Regions from separate parts of the Homo sapiens genome. Here all the other regions are linked to region 1. The links are contacts of gene promoters, found by promoter capture Hi-C in human tissues and cell types (Jung and others, 2019). All regions are on one chromosome and are shown on one strand. Each heading gives the region's core, a stretch centred on a gene start or on the middle of the fragment in contact. The rest is flanking DNA. Distances are from core to core; before and after follow the strand shown.

Evidence for each region. Contacts are between HindIII fragments. The study calls those that stand out against the background at their distance.
Region 2: a contact is called between a fragment that was not itself captured here and the fragment with the promoter of UBE2E1 in region 1, in 1 of the 25 tissues and cell types used here (IMR-90 fibroblasts).
Region 3: a fragment that was not itself captured here is called in contact with the fragment with the promoter of UBE2E1 in region 1 in 1 of the 25 tissues and cell types used here (IMR-90 fibroblasts).
Region 4: a contact is called between a fragment that was not itself captured here and the fragment with the promoter of UBE2E1 in region 1, in 1 of the 25 tissues and cell types used here (mesendoderm cells).

Annotation. Positions count from the first base shown.
Region 1 is chr3:23,804,241-23,807,561 of GRCh38, reverse strand. It overlaps UBE2E1 (ubiquitin conjugating enzyme E2 E1), which reads right to left and starts at 1,607. Exons shown (of 6, transcript NM_003341.5): 1 at 1,474-1,607; 2 at 141-325. The coding sequence starts at 292. It overlaps UBE2E1-AS1 (UBE2E1 antisense RNA 1), which reads left to right and starts at 657. Exons shown (of 2, transcript NR_046652.1): 1 at 657-743; 2 at 2,848-3,321. RefSeq lists an enhancer at 92-181 and silencers at 482-661, 862-1,161, 1,352-1,481, 1,562-1,671. The HindIII fragment of the contact is 15,489 bases long and covers 1-3,321 here.
Region 2 is chr3:23,565,456-23,568,504 of GRCh38, reverse strand. All of the region lies in intron 5 of UBE2E2 (ubiquitin conjugating enzyme E2 E2), which reads right to left. Among named protein-coding and RNA genes, the nearest start is that of UBE2E1, 240 kb to the left of the region's middle. The HindIII fragment of the contact is 6,098 bases long and covers 1-3,049 here.
Region 3 is chr3:23,614,517-23,617,868 of GRCh38, reverse strand. No RefSeq gene overlaps it. Among named protein-coding and RNA genes, the nearest start is that of UBE2E1, 190 kb to the left of the region's middle. The HindIII fragment of the contact is 9,145 bases long and covers 1-3,352 here.
Region 4 is chr3:23,588,722-23,591,907 of GRCh38, reverse strand. It overlaps UBE2E2 (ubiquitin conjugating enzyme E2 E2), which reads right to left. Exons shown (of 6, transcript NM_152653.4): 6 at 114-2,174. The coding sequence ends at 2,077. Among named protein-coding and RNA genes, the nearest start is that of UBE2E1, 220 kb to the left of the region's middle. RefSeq lists an enhancer at 1,623-2,122. The HindIII fragment of the contact is 5,004 bases long and covers 1-3,186 here.

The DNA.
Region 1 (3,321 bases), core at 358-2,857:
CTTCCAAGGCCCTTCTTTCATTTTTAAGAACACATAAACCATGAGGAGCGTTTAAGCTATCCTCATTGGGAGGCAGACCAAATGCAGCAAGAGGCAGTTCGGAAATAGGAAGCCTGTGGAAAAAAAAAAGAGCACAGTACCTCTTGGCGCTGGTGGAGAGGAGTTTGGAGTTTTTGCTCATGCTGACTTTACTCTCCTTCTTCTTGGGGGTGTTTGTTTCTTTCTCGGTTTGCTGGTTGGAAGACGAAGATGAGGAGGAGCTGGTGCTGGCCCTCGAATCGTCATCCGACATAGCGAACCCCCCACCCCACCCCGCAAACAGCCCCTGCAGGGGGAGAGAAACAAAACAGAAACACACAAACCATGCAGCCAGTGTAAATAAGGAACTCGGGTGCTGTCAGGAGGGCATTGACCAGGGGCGCACGCGGCCGCCCACCGCCCTCCACTCGCTTTTCAAAGTCTGCAGGCCCATTAAGGCTTTTGCAAATCGGACGCGGCTTGTTTATTTTTGGCCCCAAGTGGGGAACGCTGTGGGAAAACGGTCTGGAGCTAGGAGAGAGGCCCCTCCCTCGCCCCCCGGGGCTCTCCGCTGGGCAGGGAGGGAGTAGCCCGGGAGGCGAAGGAGGGCAGGGCGGGGGGCGCGGGGCGCCACGGCGGGGCAGGGAGGGAAGGTCCCGGCGGCCGGCCGGCCTCGGGGCTGTTTTTGTCCGCTTTCCGGGGGTCGTGAGGGGCCGGTGGCCCGGGTGAGACTGTGGGGCCACGAGCGGAGTTTGGCGAGGTCGGGAAGAGAGGAGGGGCGGGAAGGAGTAAGAGAGGAAGCCGAAACAGGGGGACGGAGGCGGGGAGCGGGTGCCCGGGTGGGGGAAGGGAGAGGCCGGCGGGGGGCAGGGGCGACGAGGCCCGAGGCCCCCCCGCGCCGCGCCCCGACGCCCCTCCCGGCCTGCCTGCCTCTGGCCGCCCTGCTCACAGCTATGCGGCCGGGCGGGGGTCCGGAGCACACGCCCGATCGCCACTCCTGTAGGGGGATAGGGGCTGCGGCGGGGAATGGGGGGGTCGGCCTCCGCAGCGAAGACATAACAATGAGCCCTTCCGCCCCGGAGGGGTTAATCCCCGCGAACCCCCGCCCCTGGGGAAAACGGGGCTCCCCCAACTCCCTCCCACCCCCGCTCCCGGGCCCCTCGGTGGCCAGTGGGGGGCTCTTGGGGCAGCGCTGACAGTTCGAGCCACAATGACCCCCGTCCTCAATGCGGGCGGCCCCCGCACCCCACGCGGCCCGGGGTCCCTGCCCATCCCCCGCGGGCGGGCCCCGGACCCCTGGGGCTCCCCAGCCCCTCTCCGCTCCCCCCCCGCGCCGGCCCCGTGCCCTGCGGCCCGGCGGCCCCGGCGGCGCGAGTCGGGGGAGGCGGCGAGGGGTGTCCCCGAGGCCCGGCGGCGCGGCCGGGGGGCGGCGGGCCGCTGGGGGGATCCCCGTACCTCTCTTTGTGTCTGGCTCCTCCGTGCCGCCGCGGCGGCTGCTGCTGCGGCTGCGGCTGGGCCTGGCCACTCGTGTCTCTCTCTCGCTGGGAGAGAAGCGGAAGTGCAGCAACAGCAACTATTAAACAGGCAATGGCTTCCCCCAGCCACACACGCTCGCACACACACCACTCCTCCGCCGCCGCCTCCTCCTCCTCCTCCTCCTCGCCCTCACCCCTCCCCCACCCGGCCCGGTCCCACCCACCCGCGCTCCCCTCCCCCTGCAACACCTCCTGGGGGTGCGCGAGGAAGACCCAGGAGACCCCAGGAAACCCTGTCCCCCACAGACACCCCCACCCCAGCGCCTCCTCCGGACGCCCGGGAAGGGGGCGAGGGTTGTGAATTTTCTCTTAAGTGGTTTGGGAACCTGGATTCTGGGCGGGAGAGGGGAAGCCGATGGAGATGGGGGGCGCTGGGAGTGATTGGAACTAGATGGAATAGGGGGGTCACGAGAGAAAGTTCTTTCCAATGAGGGCTTTTGGAAAGGAGAGGAGTAGGGAGGTGGCAAATTGGTGAAAACGTTGGTAATCTGGTGGTGGCAAAGACTTTAGAGAATGCAGCGGGTACTCCACCTAAAAAGCGATTAAAGAGAAAAAAAAAATCACACAACAAGGGTTTTCTTTGGACTGACACTTGCTTCTCCTTCTAGCAATTTACCTGCTAGGAGCAGAGGTCAGTTTAGGTATGCCTGTGAGAAAATCCCAAACTAGGAATTTTCTGCTCAGGTCACGCGAGGCACGTGCAGTTTTACAATATTAGATTCTTCCACTCACTTTTTATAGAAAGTGATGTGGTTTTTTATAAGAGTGATACAAAGGTTTTGGTGACAGGTAAAACCAACGTGTAACGGGCTTGCGAATGTGAGACATCACTGGGAATAAGCTATATACTACTGAATTAGACTGGATTTAGAATTTTTTGTGTCATTTTACATTAGATGTAAGGTTTGGTTTTTGGAAATTGGATGCAAAGTTCTGGGGATCGCAGAATCCCCAGATCGCTAAATTGACCAAATTATTTTTAAAATATTAAGCCATTTTTCTCTTTCTTTAGCTACCTATAAATGCTATGCAAATAATATTTTTGAAATGATCAGCAATTCTTCTGAATTGTTCCTTATTTAGCATTTTTGCCAATTTTTTTTTAATATTAAGCCATCAAATTACGATTCAGTTTCTCACCTTTTGTCATTTCAGTTGAAGGGAACTAAAGAGATGTGTGCCATTCAAATACAACAGTGCCACACATACAAGGTCTTGTACATTAAGGAGACAGCCTCAGATTTCCATAGGTCACTCTAAATTATCTCATTCAAACTGCCATCATTTTCCACAGCAACAGTGGCTTCAGTTACCACAGGACAACACAAGATATACAGCCCATGGCATATCCAGTAACCAGGAAAACAAGCATTCTCACGACCCAGCCGAACTCCTTCTAACCATCAACCTGAAATTCCAGCTTTATCAAGACTCATAAAGTAATTGTGCATGCTTCTTGCTCAATCCCTACCAGGAAACCTGTATCTACCAGGAGTTGTCATAGAATAAGAAGTTCAAAAGCTGGAAGAAATCTTCAGGGTCATAATTTCAGCCTCCTGCTTCCAGACAGAACTATTTCTCCACCACTGAAATGCATATAGATTTTGAAAAAATTTCCAGACATAACCTTTCTTAAGTGTTTGGTTTCAGGAGTCCTGGTAGAGTATATAAAAATGATGACATTCTTTGCTATATATTTGAAAAAATTTTTTAAACTTCTGAAAAACTGATTGTATTCTTTTTGTTCTGATGAAAAGATGTAAATTCA
Region 2 (3,049 bases), core at 407-2,906, 240 kb after region 1:
TCTCTGGCTATGACAGACAAGATTATCCTGATTGTCTCTTCTGTCTACTCCCACCTCGAAAGAAAAAATGATAATAATAATATAATGAGACTTGTTTATAATGCACACCTTTTGTTCAAAAAAATTTTTATTCCATAATCCTCACATGTAGTCCACCCACTAGTAACTAGTACTGCAAAATATATCAATTCCACCCCCCAAAGTCTTTTCTGTTCACATTCCTCTTCAGTGGGTAAGAGTAGGACAAGGGAATTGTGATAGTGGGTGTGAATACAACAGTCATGCCCTAGACATTGTTACGTATCCGTGGTCTCCACCACGTGTGGGAATCTGAACTTGAGCCAAGAAATAAAAATAACCCAGTGGTTTCAGTTTATAGACCATTCTGCCTGCCTTTGACTGTGGAAAAACTGTGGTCAAGGGAGTCTGGTGAGTCACATGGGTGCTGTCTGTGCTGAGGAGTGACTGTCCACTGAAAGTGTGGGCTCTGATTTGGGCTGAGGCCTTGCTCTTGTTCTCTCCTGTGAGAGGGTGTTATATGAATCTTCTGCTAAAGGTGGGACCAACCATTACCTCTAAAAAGGAGGAAACTTATTGCTCTGTGCCTGCCAACTTCCCCCTCTCCTTGAGGGATGCAGTGTCTCTTTCAGTTTTATATCACAAAACCAACAAAGTGTCTAGGATATAGGATACCACAGATGACCATGCAGTAAGTATTTGTTTAATATATGGATTCATGTACAGTTCAACCTATTGGTCAAGATGACTTAGTTTGTGGGTGGTGGCAGGTTCTTCCAGACTAGACATCCTTCTTCATTTCCATTCTTGGGCCTAACTGATATTTATACCCATAGGATCACTGACTCTTTAAGTCACTGACTTGGCGTGGTGAGCATTCTGACAGGTCTGGTGCCACTTTTTGGGGTTTAATATACAGCTGTCTTGGCTTTGAATCTAAAGCAGACATGATCCATTTCCTATAAGTGACCTTTTGCTTGGTCTTCCAGATTCCCCATGACCTTCTTTCAGTCCCTGAAGGTTTCGATTCTTATCATATATAAAGATTCTTACATTTAGTCTGTATTCAGTAGTTTCCTGTTTTACTGACATCTTGCCTGAACTCGAACATACTGTTGTTTAAACCCCTTAGGCAACATGTTCTACCACCTGACGAAATTCTGTCCACACACAGTGCTTCTCCCCTACCCCTGCCTCAGCCAAGTAAGTGGGCAGTTCTATTTCTGGGATTCAAACTCTTACTATATCCCTCTATTATGGATAAAAAATCATGACCAAACAAATCCTAACACATCACGGGAAGCATATTGTGAACCTTGTTTTCCATCTTTCTGCTGGCAGAAAAGGGGGAATGGCTTGTTTTAGTTATAGAAGCATTAACCCACTGGGTACATGAAATGACTAAATAATATTCACTGATCCTAGAATGCATCTTTTTACCTCACTAAGACTGGTCTGGAAATTTGTGAGAGACCAGGCACAGTCAAGTTCACTTTCTTGAGCTTGGGACACAGTCACTACTGATACTGCCATAGTGGTAAGGAAACTAAGTCCTGAGGATTCTAATTCCCAGATATCTCTTGGCCTTTCCCCTTTCCTTCCTCTTTGTAGCCTTTGTCATCTCTTAACTGGGCCACCAAATACTTTCTTGATATGGTTTGGGTATTTGTCCCCTCCAAATCTGCTGACATGTGACCCTCAATGTTGGAGCTAGGGCCTAGTGGCAGGTGTTGGGGTCAGGGGGGTGGATCCCTCATGAACGGCTCAGTGCTCTTCCCTCAGTAATGAGTGGTAATGAGATCTGGTTGTTCAAAAGAGTGTGGCAACTTCTTGCTTTCGTTTTTGCTCCTTCTCTCACCATGTGACTTGCCTTCACTCTCCACCATTGATTGGAAGCTTCCTGAGGCCCTTCCAGAAGCAGATGCTGGCACTATACTTCTTGTACACCCTGCAGAACTGTGAGCCAAATAAAACTTTTTCTTTATAAATTGCCCAGCCTCAGTTATTCCTTTATAGCAATGCAAATGGACTAACACATGTCTGGAGTGTCTGTCTTCAGGCTGTCCACTACGAGATGAACCAAGTTTCAGTCTCTTATACAAGCTTGGTTACACAACTTCGCTCTTCAAAAACCTTTTAATCACCATTACTCCCCATGAGATCCCCACTGGCAAGGCTTGCTATGCATAAAGATGCATTCTGGCCAATAACTTGATGTCCCAAATGCATTTTAGCCTATTAAATTGTATTTTTCAATGTTCTTATCATACTATTGTCTTCAGCAGGGACTGTTCCAATGCTTTGCTCTTCTCCTTAGTTCTTACTGTTTCAGGAGGAAATATGAGTTTTCAAAAGAGGCAAACATGTTAATTTGACAGAGGGCTAAGACTACTGCAAAAAAGGGAAAATACATGGCAAAAAACTTTATGCTCAGTAAGTGTGAGGTGTTGGCTTATACATTAAAACAACGCATTAATATGTAGTGGCTTCCATCTCTCTAAGTTCAAAAGCAACAAATGAATGACAACTCTGGACAACAATTTAGTCTACATTGTCATTCTGGTCTTCCCTAGGGAGACCAATCTCAGAAAGAAGAAAACGATCTCATGACGGAGGTTCTTAAAGCACAAAAAGGAGGAAAGAAAAGAGGTGGCAGAAGCGCTTATCAAAGTGATCTGCGAACACACTAAGTCCTTTCCAATGATGCTGAACTATTAGGCAGAAGCATCTTGCCCTGTGAGAGGGGAAACATTTAAAAAGACCAACTGCTTATTGTGGGATTTTCCTAATCAGAATTTTAAACTGGATTTTAAACCTTTTCAGAGTTGAGCCAACTTCCCTTTAGCCAGAGGGCCCCTATAACCTCCCTAGGTGGAAATCCCAACCTTCTGCTTCCTGCAGCTTCCCTAAGCAGGTCTTTGATTACGTCTAACAAGCCCTGTTGCACTGGCCTCTGTAACCTGTTGACCTTTCTCACCTTAATTCTCCCAGTCCAGCTGCAAACCTCTTTCACTGAAAAAAAAAAAAAAAA
Region 3 (3,352 bases), core at 310-2,809, 190 kb after region 1:
GAAGTCTTTGCCCATGCCTATGTCCTGAATGGTATTGCCTAGGTTTTCTTCTAGGGTTTTTATGGTTTAAGTCTTTAATCCATCTTGAGTTAATTTTTGTGTAAGGTATAAGGAAGGGGTCCAGTTTCAGTTTTCTGCATATGGCTAGCCAGTTTTCACAACACTATTTATTATATAGGGAATCCTTTCCCCATTGCTTGTTTTTGTCAGGTTTGTCAAAGATCAGATGGTTATAGATGTGTGGTGTTATTTCTGAGGCCTCTGTTCTGTTCCATTGATCTATATATCTGTTTTGGTAACAGTACTGTGCTGTTTTGGTTACTGTATCCTCGTAGTGTAGTTTGAAGTCAGGTAGCGTGATGCCTCCAGCTTTGTTCTTTTTGCTTAGGGTTGTCTTGGCTATGTGGGCTCTTTTTTGGTTGCATATGAAATTTAAAGTAGTTTTTTCTAATTCTGTGAAGAAAGTTAATAGTAGCTTGATGGGGATAGACACATTCTATAAATCTATAAATTACTTTGGGCAATGCAGCCATTTTCATGATATTGATTCTTCCTATCCATGAGCATGGAATGTTTTTCCATTTGTTTGTGTCCTCTCTTGTTTCTTTGAGCAGTGGTTTGTAGTTCTCCTTGAAGAGGCCAGAACCAGCTTCTTTGAACCAGCTTCCTGAAAAACAGGAAGTTCTCAAGGCCGACTTCCTGGAGATGGAAGCTGAGACTACAGATTGTAAAAGCCTTGGCCTCAGGGGACCATCTCCAGGTTCTGCAAGGGGCTTCTTCAAACCTCTGTGTGTGGAGTCATTTTGTGCTGAGGAGCAGCTCCTTCCTGGCCCTGCACCTTCAAGCTCTCCCTGGGATGCTACAACATAAGGGGCACACGTTCTAGACACATGTTTATTTTTATTTCTCTTTGGCATCCTGTCTTCATCCCCTCAGAAGGTCTGTCTTGAGTTCCTATAACACTGTGACTCGCTCAAGCCAGACTCTGCCAAAACCAAGATACCCACTTACCTGAGTGGAAGAGGTGTTACTGAAACACCATGGGTTCCATCTGGGTCCCATCACTCACCACATAGAGAGCCAATCACTGAGAAAACGAGTATCACCAGGGAAGAAGGCTTTTTATTCAGGTGACGTTATCCTGGAGAATGGGAGATAAGTCTCAAATCCATCTCCTCAATGGACTAAAATTGGGGGTTTATGTAGCTGAGAAGGGATGGAATTGTGTGTGGGAAAACAGGAACTAGGGAAGGGTAAGGAAAATGAATAAAGCGACTGGTGTCTTACTGGCCGGATGCAGTGATCTGGTGAATTTTAGTCCTTTGCCTAAGGGTCAGTTTCCTGAAGAAGGAACCCAGATGAGACAAATAAGTTTCAAGTTTTAAGATGGGGGTGTCAATGTCTATGTTTATTCAAGAAAATCATAAAGGTCAGGCATGATGCCTCGCACCTGTAATCCCAGCACTTTGGGAGGCTGAGGCAGGTGGATTGCTTGAGGTCGGGAATTTGAGGCCAGCCTGGGCAACATGGTGAAACCTCATCTCTACAAAAAATACAAAAATTAGCCAAGTGTGGTGGTGCATGCCACCACATGTGTGGTCCTAGCTACTCAAGAGGCTAAGGTCAGAGGATCACCTGAGCCTGGGGAGGTTGAGGCTGCAGGGAGCTGTGATCGCACTTCAGCCTGGGCAACAGTGAGAACCTGTCTTAAAAAACAAAAAATATAATTTACAAATTTAATTCCCACGCATATCATATTTGACTTGTATAGGAAAATAAAGATCCTGTTGCATCTTGAACATGATCTAGAAAAAATGTTTATACTGGTAGGAGGATCACTTGAGCCCAGGAAGTTGAGGCTGCAGTGAGCCGTGATCACTCCACTGAACCCTAGCCTAGGCAACAGGTTCATTAAAAACAAAAAACAGGCCAGGCACAGTGGCTCATGCCTGTAATTCCAGCACTTTGGGAGGCTGAGGCAGGTGGATCACATGAGGCCAGGAGTTTGAGACCAGTTAGGCCAACATGATGAAATCCTGCCTCTACTAAGAACACAAAAATTAGCCAGGTGTGGTGGCGGGTGCCTGTAATCCCAGCTACTTGGGTGGCTGAGGCATGAGAATTGCTTGAACCCAGGAGGTGGAGGTTGCAGTGAGCTGAGATTGCACCACTGTACTCCAGCCTGGGCGACAGAGCGAGACCCAGTCTCAAAAACAAAACAAGACAAAAAACAAACAAAGAAAAACCCAATAAGTATCAGTTATATGGGACGATAGGGCTGGATTCAGAGGGGAGCCCAGTTTTCAACTCTTCTTTGAAATTCCTGCTTCCTCAAAAGGCCACTGAGCTCTGAAAGATTTGGGACTAAAGACCTATCTCAGGAATCTTCCCCTGAGCTAAAGGCCACTTGAGTTGGGGCCATTACTTACCTTGGTTGGACGGGGGTAGCAATGCTTGATGCACATGGGAGAGTCTTAACATGCGTCTTACGGAGGAGATGGACACTGGTGCAGGGTTGGCACTCTGGTGCTGCATATGTTGCCAAGAGCCTGTCTGCTCCTACCGGGCCAGGTAGCATGAGTGATGCCCCCACAGCTCCTCCCTGTGGACTTAGGAAGGTGCCCCTACTCTTGCACAAAGCCACTTAGGGCAAATCTGCAGAGCATATTTTGCATGTCGAAGCATAGGTCTATTTGGATTATCCTTCTTCTATTTTCTCCTGACAGCTTCCTTTCCAAGAAATCAAGAAAGAAAACAAAAGCTAGCCAGGGGTGGTGGCTCATGCCTGTGATCCCAGCACTTTGGGAGGCCGAGGCAGGTGGATCATGAGGTCAGGAGTTCGAGACCAGCCTGACCAACATAGTGAACCCCCCATCTCTACTAAAAATACAAAAAATTAGCTGGGCGTGGTGGTGGGCACCTGTAATCCCAGCTTCACATGAGGCTGAGGCAGGAGAATCGCTTGAACCTGGGAGGTGGAGGTTGCAGCGAGCCGATATCGTGCCACTGCACACCAGTCCAGGCAACAGTGCAAGACTTCATCTCAAAAAAAAAAAAAAAAAAAAATTAGTCAGGTTTGGTGGGGGGGTGCCTGTAATCCCAGCTACTTGGGAGGCTGAGGCAAGAGAATCACTTGAACCTAGGAGGCAGAGGTTTCAGTGAGCCAAGATTGTGTCACTGTACCCCAGCCTGAGTGACAGACTGAGACTCCAACTCAAAGAAAAAAAAAGAAGCTGAAAACATTTATTAAAAAAAAGGAAGAAGGAAATTGCAGAATATGCAACAATTAAGTAGTAGGCATTTGGTCTTCTGGGGAAAAATATTACAACCTATTTACAAACCTTTGTTGATG
Region 4 (3,186 bases), core at 356-2,855, 220 kb after region 1:
ATTTTCAATGGTTCAATGCCTTTAGTGCTGAATTTTAAAATCTGAAGTAAAAATAAAAAACTTTGTGGTGAGAAACTGTAGGCAATTAAACATTCTGAGCAACTTTCCAAAAATCAGTGTTGTACCATATTGAATTTATTTTATGTTAAAGAAAGAAATGACACATCGTTATTTGTTTTTCATCCAGCCCCCAGTCTATGTTGGTCTGTGTCAGGGATTGGCAAACTACAACCCATGGGCCAAATCCCATGCCTATGGTGGTAAATAAAGTTTCACTGGAATATAGCTCTGCCCAATGCATTTATGTACTGTCTGTGGCTCCCTCTACTACAACTAGAGGGTTGAGTAGTGCATCAGAGACCATACAGTGCCCTGCTATGCTGAGAAATGTTTTTAAATAAAATGAATGGTAAAATCGTTATTAAAAAGACAAAAAATATTCTCAGGTATTTTGGTTTAGAAGTGGCATTTGCAATATTTAAATATATTTTCTTAGGATTTATTTTTAACTAGTTAAAAACAACAAAAACTGTATCTTTTGAATCAGGCATTTTAAATGTTAAAATATTTAGAGGTGGATGACTTATGCTTATAAATCCTGCTTTTCAGCAGTGAAGGTGTTAATGGTTCCTTAAATGAGACCAAGAGTATGGTAGGGTCTGTAACTGTATGGTGCAGCAGGAGTAGGAGTTTCCACTACGCTTTGTTACACTAATAACCCTGAATTATCAATCAGCAAGTCAGCGTGTTTTAGAAACTACACCACCCACGTTTCCTCTGCCTCCTATAGCTGCACACTAAAATAGCCTGAAGGTGAAGCCAGACAGACACCCTTGTCATTGAATGGGCTGACCGTGACCAATACAGTTGAGTTTACTTCTTTTGCTAAAATCATGGAGAAAAAAGAGCAGCAACAACAACAACAACAACAACAAAAATGAACAATACAAAGCTTGAGGGCAATCACTGTAACAATTTTGAGAGAAATAAAGTTGAAAGTGGCTGAACACAATGATTAGCTCAGACTTCACTTTCACAAGAAGGCTATTTTTGGAGTTACATATTTTAATTGTTGATAAAGAAGGCTGTAACAGAAAGAATGCCCAGTCAATATGTAAAATGATAGCAATTTACTATAACAACCATAAAATCATCAGGCTACTGACAGCTGGAGAAATTCCACATGCTAAGCAACTCAACTCCAAAGAAATATTAGAGGTTTGAGATGAAAAATACACTTGAACCTGTAATTGAATTAGACAAGCCTCACTGCACGTAGGGCTACAGCGGTCACCAGGACACAAAGCAAATGTCGGGTTACCAGAAGTGCAGTTATCAGCCACAGTGATTTATTGAGTGCTTTAATAATACAAGTGTACATCAACTGATCCACAGTCAAAAGTGGCAGGTCCCTAAGAAATTTACAAGCACTTTAAGTAAATCAAAATACATATTATTTTGTTCAATCCAACAGTCTTCTGCGGGAGGGACAGAAGGCTAGTGATAAACAGAGTCTCAGTAATGCACAGTGATTCTGATTGAAGCTTTTGTACAAAAACTTGTTCCCAGTAGCATGCACCCACCAATAAAGACTTCAGTACAAAAAATTAACCCTAAGCACTACATTTAAGTAGAAACGAGATATAATTCTGAATGTGTTTTCCCAAAGATCACATAAAAGAAAAAAAAATCAAAATCAAATAAACAACAACAAAAAAAACAAAACCACACAGTAATACAAAGCTTTGTAAGAAAGCTCTTACTATTACAGCTCCAACATTGTTTGCACTGAAAACAAAAGTTCCCATCTATGATGAGGTGGGAAAAAATCCCAAATCTTTCAAGTTAACAGAAATCAACAAGGGAATAAAATGAGAGATAAAAGAGAGCGTGGGAGAGAGGAAGGGGGGCAGGAAGAACTGGGATGGGAAGATGGACAACATACCATCACAAAATGGTTCCAAATTTAATAAAAATAGGAAAATAAGAACCGAGGTCTGGAGGGGTGGGCAGGGCTACCGATGCACTTGGTGAATGTGCTTGCACAGGTCCCGCGGGGCGGCAGGCAGCAGGCCCCTATGTGGCGTACCGCTTGGTCCACTGTCTGGCCATCCGGTCATGCTCTGCTCTGTTGGTCATGTACTGTGTGGCGATGCTGCCCACCAGAGGGTCAGCTGCAAGGAAAGCAGAGTTGGGAGTCAGTAAATACCAGCACTGTGGGGGAAGAAGTGTTCAGAAAGCTGGCAAGGAGTGGGAGGGTAGGAGATGAGAAGCTGCTGTTCTAACCTGGACCACCATTGCTGCGGCTGAGCCAGTCACCTGCTGCTGACAGACTACATTTCACACCAGCTGCCCCAAGAGTCACCTATCTGTATTTTACTGATAGCTCTTGTCATATTTCTTGACAAGTCTTATTCTCTTTCCCTGTACCCACCACATACTTCTCACCTTGCTCCCCTCGTATTGGTTTTTTTTTTTTTCTTTTGAGACAGGGTGTTGCTCTGTCACTCAGGCTAGAGTGCAGTGGCATGATCACAGCTCAGTGTAGCCTTGACCTCCTGGGATCAAGCAATCCTCCTCCTGCCTCAGCCTCCTGAGTAGCTGGGACCACAGGTGTGTGCAACAACACCTGGCTAATTTTCAAATTTTTTTTTGTAATTTTGGGGGTCTCACTATGTTGTCCAGGATAGTCTCAAACTCCTGGGCTCAAGTTATCCTCCTGCCTCAGCCTCCCAAAGTGCTGGGATTACAGGTGTGAGATGCCTGTCTTCAAGTAGATATTTCACGGAGAAAATGCAGGTGGGCTGTGGGCAGGGGACTCATGGGCTCTTGATGAGCTCTCCTGGGAAGACGTTTGGCGGTCTGGACAACTCCTTACCCTAGGCTAGCACCACAGGCAGGTGGCATTCTCCTGCCAGATTACCTTATCTGAGGAGACGCCAGAGTCTGAGCTGGACAGTCAAAAGAGGGGAGAGATGGTCCACTTCTTCCTCAAAATTTGGTAACATCCAACCTACATAGCTCATTATTACAAAAATACTAATAGATGTTAATAATAGCTAACACTCACCATGACTAACCATGTCCTAAAACTCTAATATGTTAATGACATGGATTTCTAAGGAGCTGACACAGGAGGAAATTGGAGCATAAGGAGGCTGAGTCTCTTGCCCAACGTGGAGAAAG